Linked DNA regions of Homo sapiens: region 1 is linked to region 2. Evidence: promoter capture Hi-C in 16 types of primary human blood cells and fetal thymus (Javierre and others, 2016). All regions are on one chromosome and are shown on one strand. The core of a region is centred on a gene start or on the middle of the fragment in contact, and the rest is flanking DNA. Distances in the headings are between cores, read along the strand shown.

Region 1 (3,183 bases), core at 330-2,829, 4.1 Mb before region 2:
GCTACTTTATAGTATAGCCAGGTTTCCCTGCATCCTGATATCTGGGAAGAATTGTAGGCAGAATTAGGAAAAGAAACTGCATTTAGAAAATTCAAAAACTTACTAGGAAACTATTCTGTATTGTATATATTTCAAATAAAAGTTTAATATCGGTTTGCTGCTCAAGGAAATAGTTGAAATGTCAAAATTTACCTATCGTAATTCGAAATTGCATGTATGTTTTGTTAGAAAGTTCGTAGTAATGCTGAATCCTACATAAACATTGTGTTGACAGTATGTTGTGCTCAACAATTATTGGGTTAAACGTTATTCATTCAGTTAGCATTTTTCACTTCCAAAGTGATACAAACTTCACTCATTATCACATTACCTTTCTCCTGACAGATTAATAGCTATACGTTCACAGTTAAATGCATGTTTACTTTTGGATTCAAATAACCCAGTTGGGAAGTTACATTATATACTTTTTTGGTGATTGCAACCTATTGGATATCATTTCATTTCACAAATGAGAGATGGTTATAGCACAATGAAAATAAAAATTGCATTATTTCATCGTAGGGTTAGCATTAGTATGCTAGACATAATTGTACATGTACACAGTTGGATGATCTTTGCTTTTATAACCAAATTTACTTTGTAGTAGGCATATTTCTCCCTTTACATGATATTATTTTTGGCTACACACTCGCCATTACTGAGTATTCCATTTTTAATCATTCCCATTCTGGTGGTTTGAGCTTTTCTTAGCTCAAATGAGCCAGAGGTACGATTTCCTCAGGGGAATTTTAGGGGTCAACTCCAGCAGGAAAAACCTAGACGTCGTTATGGAAGCCCAAGGGAACAAAACAATTCAAGTTTGCACAGATGGCCAGCTGTCTTAGTGGTTGTATGGTCGTTTAGCATTTTTATTCCTTAAAAGGGGAAACCAGTTTAGTTTCATCAGGGATTTTTTTTTTTTTGCATCAATTTTGTTTCACCTTATTCCTCTCAAGTTTGAGGTGGCCCGTTAAACCAGCCACTTTTGCTTCTTGAGGTGGACCTGTGGAATTTCTGTGCCCCAAACTGCGAACGTTCTTTAGGTCTAACCCTGAAAACCTTCGTTACCCTGGTCCAGCCCCTCTTCACTGCTTTGCCATGGATTTCCACTCCTTGCTTTCTCTACTGCTTTCTAGCAGCCGGGGTCACACCTTGGTTCATGCTAATTACTCCCTCTTCCCCTTTCACGCTCTCCCCTCTTCCCTGGAGCCCGGTCCGACGACCAGCCCCGCACCCCCCTTTTCTGTCCCCGAAGTCCCCTCCCGGGTTGGCCCTATAAGCTGTCAGGCTGGCAGGCAGGGGTTAATTGCGCTCGCAGCTTCGGCACTGGGAAGCACCAGCGGGGCTTTGGAGCGGCCTCTGGAATAACCTTGGCTTTCCTCGCTCTTTTAATAGAACATCCGCCACCAAAAAGTGGTTTCAGTTCAGGGTTAACATGTCCCCTTCCACTCTCCAAACCAACACCCTGCCCCCTCCGTTTTTTTAAAAGTTGTTTTTCAAAGTTAATGAGTTTTAAGTTTCACAATGACTTTCCCCTTCCTTCTACGCGTTGCTGAGGAAACCCCCTTGGGGTCCCCCCCCCCCCCCGCCTCCCCCTCCCCCATTCTGCCCGGGCGAGGGGCGGGGCCGGGAGACCCCATGACGTCAGCGGCCGGCCCACATCCTGCTGTAGAAAGTAAAGAGACGGTAAAGAGAAACTACGGCCCCGCCCGTCCCGTCCCTCTTCCCGGACCAACCGCCCCCAACTGAGCGACCCCGCCAGGCCTTCCCGGGGCCGCGTGACTGGCCGGGCCCGCCCCTCCGCCCCCGCCGTGTGCTGGTTCCCCAGGCGTCGCGACCCAGGGCTCCCGCCCCCCGCGTCCCTAACCCCGCCCCTCCCCCCCGGGCTGCGCTGCCACCTCCTCCCGCGTCCCCCTCCCGTCCCTGCGGCGGCTCGGCCGGGCGGGGCGGGGAGGGGCGAAGCGGCGGGTAGGTGGCGGGGCCGGCGCGGTCTGGGGCCCGCCCCGCCGGGGAGACCCGGGGCACTGGCTCCGGGTTCGTGCCGGGCCGGGCGCCCATCCAGTCCCTACACCCGGTCAGAGCTGGCGGCCGCGCCGGCCCAGCTGGGCCCCGGCGCCTGGGCGTCCCGCGCCCCTCGCCCCGGCCTCAACCCCAGCCCCCGCGGGGACGCCCCCTCCCCCGCCCACGCGTCGCCGCCCGCGGCCTCCCCTCCTCCCGCCCCCGGGGATCCCCTGCCGCCCCGCCCACCCGCGGGAAAGCCTCCGACCTTCGCCCTGCCTCCCCCGCGCCGCCCGGCCCGCGTTCCTCCCGCCGGCCCCAAAGACGCTAAACGTGCCCTACTCTGCCCCGGGGGAGAGGTAAAGCCCGCGCCCGTCCTTCCCGCCCCGGGCCCCGCGGCCCCAGGGTCTGTCCGCCCGCCCCGCCGCGGCGCGCGCCCCCCAGCCCGGCTGCCCGGCTCCCTGGCGGCCGCGATCATGCCGTGGCTCCGGGCGCCGGCGAGCTTCGCCGCCTCCTCCGCCCGGCGGCTGCGGCCCCCGCCCGCGCGCCCCGCGCTCCCCCCCCCGCCCCCCGGCCCGCTCCCCTGTTTAATATTTCAGTGCTGGGTGGTGTGAGCGCCAGTCGCCGGCCTTCAGCGTGGCGGCTGCTGGGCGGCGGCAGGGTGGCGGACGGAGCGGGGGACCGGGGAGCGGCGGCCGCCGGAGGAGGTTATGTTTGTGTTTGGGGTTGTCAAGTGAAGGAGGGATCCCAGGCGCCGCCGCCGCCGCCGCGCGGGGGTCGCGGAGATCCCGAGCCGCGGCCGCCGCCATCAGCAGCGCAGCTCCAGGGCCGGCTGCAGCGGCAGCGGCTCCGCCGGGCGTCCTGGCAGCAGGTTCGGCGCGGGCTCCGCGGCGGGGGCGCTGCAGCTGGGGAGGGCGGCGGGGCGGAGGGGGGGGGGGGCAGGAGCACATCCCTTCGGCGGGCGGGGGGCGTGCGGGCGCGCGTGTGTGTGTGTGTGTGCGTGTGTGTGCAACCGCCGACCTTGCAGAGGGGATGGCTGCGTGCGGGAGACCCTTGGCACTTCTGGGCGCCCTCGCCGCGCGCGAGCCGAGCAGGTACAGAGGGACCCAGCCTCCCCAGCCGCCTTCCAGCCGCAGACGCATTTTG
Region 2 (3,395 bases), core at 800-3,299:
CTGCAACAGTGGGGGTTAGGACTTGGACAGTTTACAGTTTTACTCGGTCAGCTTTAGCAAAGAACTGTGTGTGGGAGGATCCCTCCTTTTTTTTTAGCCTTGGGCTCTGATATCGTACCTGGTTGTTCGGAAATAAAGGCCACTAACAGATCCTTGGGACTCGTGAAGGGGGGTAGGGACAGGAAAAGTCATCATTAAGCAGTGAAGGCACTGAACTTATAGCTCCCCTTACATACACGGGGACATTCAAATGCTTTTGTGAACGTTATTATCTTTGCTGCGCTTCCCAACAATGCTGGGTGGAGACAGAGCAGATATTGCCATCTCCATTTTACTGTTGACAACACCAAGCTTCAGACAGATGAAGTAAGTTTTCTCTTTTTTTTTCTTTCGTTGTTTTCTTTTTGTTGTTGTTGTTGTTTAGAGACAGGGTCTTTTGCTCTGTCGCCTAGGCTGGAGTGCAGTAGGGGGATCACAGCACACTGCAGCCTCGAACTCCCAGGCTCAAGTGATCCTCCCACCTCAGCCTCCCATGTAGCTGAGACTACAGGCAGGCGCCACCACGCCTGGCTAATTTTTTGTATTTTGTGTAGAGATGGGGTTTCGCTGTGTTGCGAAACCGGGCTGGTCTCAAACTGCTGGGCTCAGGCGATCCTCCTGCCTCGGCCTCCAAAAGTGCTGGGATTACAGGTGTGAGCCATCGAGCTGGCCTGAAGTAAGTTTGCTAAGTTTCCACGGCTGAAACCCACATCATCTGGCTCCTATAAAGAAATCAAAAAGGTAGGCTATGTAATATATTGGCAAAGAGGAACAAGCGGTAAATGAGTGAAGGGTTGTAGACCTTTAATAGCTAATATTGCAGTAATGCCACCTGTTAGGTCAGGAGATGAGCACCTTACCTTAAGACGAGGACAACATCTGGTTGCCTGTGAGAAGGGACAGGCAGGGTATCAGGTGCTGCACAAATGTTTAATGAATGAGTGAGATAAGACAGGAGGTAGAATGAGCAACCTGAGAGAGGGCCTGGTACCCTGTAAGGCGTTTTGATTCAGCAGAACGAGTAAGGAGAAGCCCTTCCGGAGTGTAACACACCAGCACTAGACCAAGACACCTGGCTCACTGGTCAGCTGCAAAAACTTTCATACTCAGATTTTGTTTTTCTCAATGATGAGGTCTTAATAAGGAACAACAATTCTGCCTCCAAGCAACCCACTGTGGCTAATCCTGGTGGAAAAGAGTTTTCTTTTTCTCTTTTTTTTTTCTTTTTTCTTTTTCTTTTCTTTTTTTTTTTTTTTTTTTTTTTTTTTTTGAGACAGGGTTTTTTGCTCTTCTTGCCCAAGCTACAGTGCAGTGACACAATCTCAGCTCACTGCAACCTCCGCCTCCTGGGTTCAAGCGATTCTCCTGCCTCAGCCTCCCAGGTAGCTGGGATTACAGGTGCCCGCCACCACGCCTGGCTATTTTGTTTTTTTTTTTGTATTTTTAGTAGAGACGGGGGTTTCACCATGTTTGCCAGGCTGGTCTCGAATCTGACCTCAGGTGATCCACCCATCTCGGCCTCCCAAAGTGCTGGGATTACAGGCGTGAGCCACCATGCCCGGACGAGAACAGTTTTCTTTAGGCTTTGGGTTGCTCCTTTTCCTTTTTGCTTTCACAACCGAAATGCGTGCTCAGAGTGATCCAAGATATTTGAAGAACAGTGGCAGCTTGGAGGTGTTTAATCACCGTAAATTCGAGACGGCAGAAAGGCGTCCCCGCCTGGAGCCCCGGGCGATCGCTCACTCTGAGCAGCGTCGCCCAGCGGACAGAGGCGGCTGGTGTGTTCCGGGGTCTCCCTCCCTTCCCGCAGCACTCGGCGCCCGCAAGCTGCCACCTCCCGGGGCGGCCAGGGAAACTCAGCCGGCTCTGGGAGGCGGGGGCCGCGGTCGAGGGGCGCCGCTATTGGCTGATCGGGCGGGGGAGGAGGGGCAGGGAGGCCGTGATTGGCGGGGACCCGAGCTGAAGGGGGCGGGGCCGCTATATCAGCAGAGTCCCTGTCGCAGCGCAGGCAGTTGGGCTGCTGGAGTGCGGCGCCACCGCGGAGGACAGGGGCAGCTGGCGGGCAGCGGGTGAGGGGGTGGCGGGGACGCGAGTGGCGGCCGCGGGGCCCCGGACAAGGGTCCGCAGAGCTGCAGCCTTCGAGGGCCAGCCCTCTCCGAGTCCGGGGCTGGGTCCCACCAGTGACAAGGCGGCAGCCCCGCGCACACCAAAGAGAAGGCGGCTGTGGCGGCAGCGGCAGCCCCAGCCATGCTGTGTTATGTGACGAGGCCGGACGCGGTGCTGATGGAGGTGGAGGTGGAGGCGAAAGCCAACGGCGAGGACTGCCTCAACCAGGTGAGGGCGAGGGGCAAGAAGGGGCCCCGGCGGGTCCCGCGAGGCCGAGGGGCCTCGCAGCGACGCCTGGCACTCTGGCGCGCCCCCTACTAGGGGCCGGGAGGCACTGCGGCGGCAGCCGGGGGGAGCGCGTCCCCTCCTCTCCACGGGCGTGGGGCGCGCGGTCTCCTCCTGGCGCGCGTGGGGTGCGCGGAGAAAGCGCGCAGCGGGGGTCCCCAGCGCTGAGGGCCGGGCGCAGCCCGCAGCCGGGATCCACCCCCCAGCGCCCCATCATCCCCCCAACCCAGCACTTTCCCGGAAGAAGGCGGCTCCGCACACCTGCCGCAGGTATGTGCGTGATGCCGCCTGTCGGGTCCCCGCGGCGCCTGGCAGTGCCACCCGCGTGCCAGGATGGGATGGAGTGGCTCGAAGCAGTCTCGGGCCCCAGGGGTTCTTGGCAGACAAGCCGGGCCCTTGTCTCACGCTGCTTCTCAGGCTGCTGCTCTCAAATGCACCGTTCACCTGCATCTCCGGGTTTGCGGGGGACGGGAGGAATAGGTTTGGGTCATCTACTGCTCGGTTGTTTTTAAGCATGTGTTTCCTTAACAGTGAGGGAGATCGGTGCCAAATAGTGCAGAGGTGGTATGGCAGACAGCACATGTGATCCCAGGAAAACGCTGTGCCCTCAACCCCTCTAGCTCTGAGATGTTTGGAAAACCGCTTGTGAAGCTTAGCTGACACTTGTGGCGTGTTCCCTCAATGTGTTTGATTTTTGGAGTCCAAATGGTTAAAATTGCCCAGATAATAAGTCGCCAAAAATCAGCTGTGCAGAGTATGCTGGTGGAGGGAATTCCGGTGATTGGAATACGAAGGAAAATACCCTGTAGTTTCCCCTCCTCATCTTTTGGAAGGCTACTTTTGAGGACTCCTTTTTTCTCTATTGCAATTGGTCATGCCCTAGACGTTAAAAGGAATTATGAGCCTCCATACTAGAGCTCGTGGTTTGGTATCATTGGAGCCGTGGAACTTTGTTTTTCCAGTTT

Evidence for each region. Contacts are between HindIII fragments. The CHiCAGO score rates a contact against its expected background, and 5 or more counts as called.
Region 1: a contact is called between a fragment that was not itself captured here and the fragment with the promoter of MYLIP in region 2, in 1 of 17 cell types (fetal thymus). The highest score is 7.2, in fetal thymus.

The regions. Positions count from the first base shown.
Region 1 is chr6:12,009,659-12,012,841 of GRCh38, forward strand. It overlaps HIVEP1 (HIVEP zinc finger 1), which reads left to right and starts at 2,654. Exons shown (of 9, transcript NM_002114.4): 1 at 2,654-2,908. RefSeq lists an enhancer at 705-1,249 and silencers at 1,579-2,488, 2,669-2,808. The HindIII fragment of the contact is 4,790 bases long and covers 1-3,183 here.
Region 2 is chr6:16,127,037-16,130,431 of GRCh38, forward strand. It overlaps MYLIP (myosin regulatory light chain interacting protein), which reads left to right and starts at 2,050. Exons shown (of 7, transcript NM_013262.4): 1 at 2,050-2,373. The coding sequence starts at 2,287. RefSeq lists a silencer at 1,732-2,731. The HindIII fragment of the contact is 2,730 bases long and covers 350-3,079 here.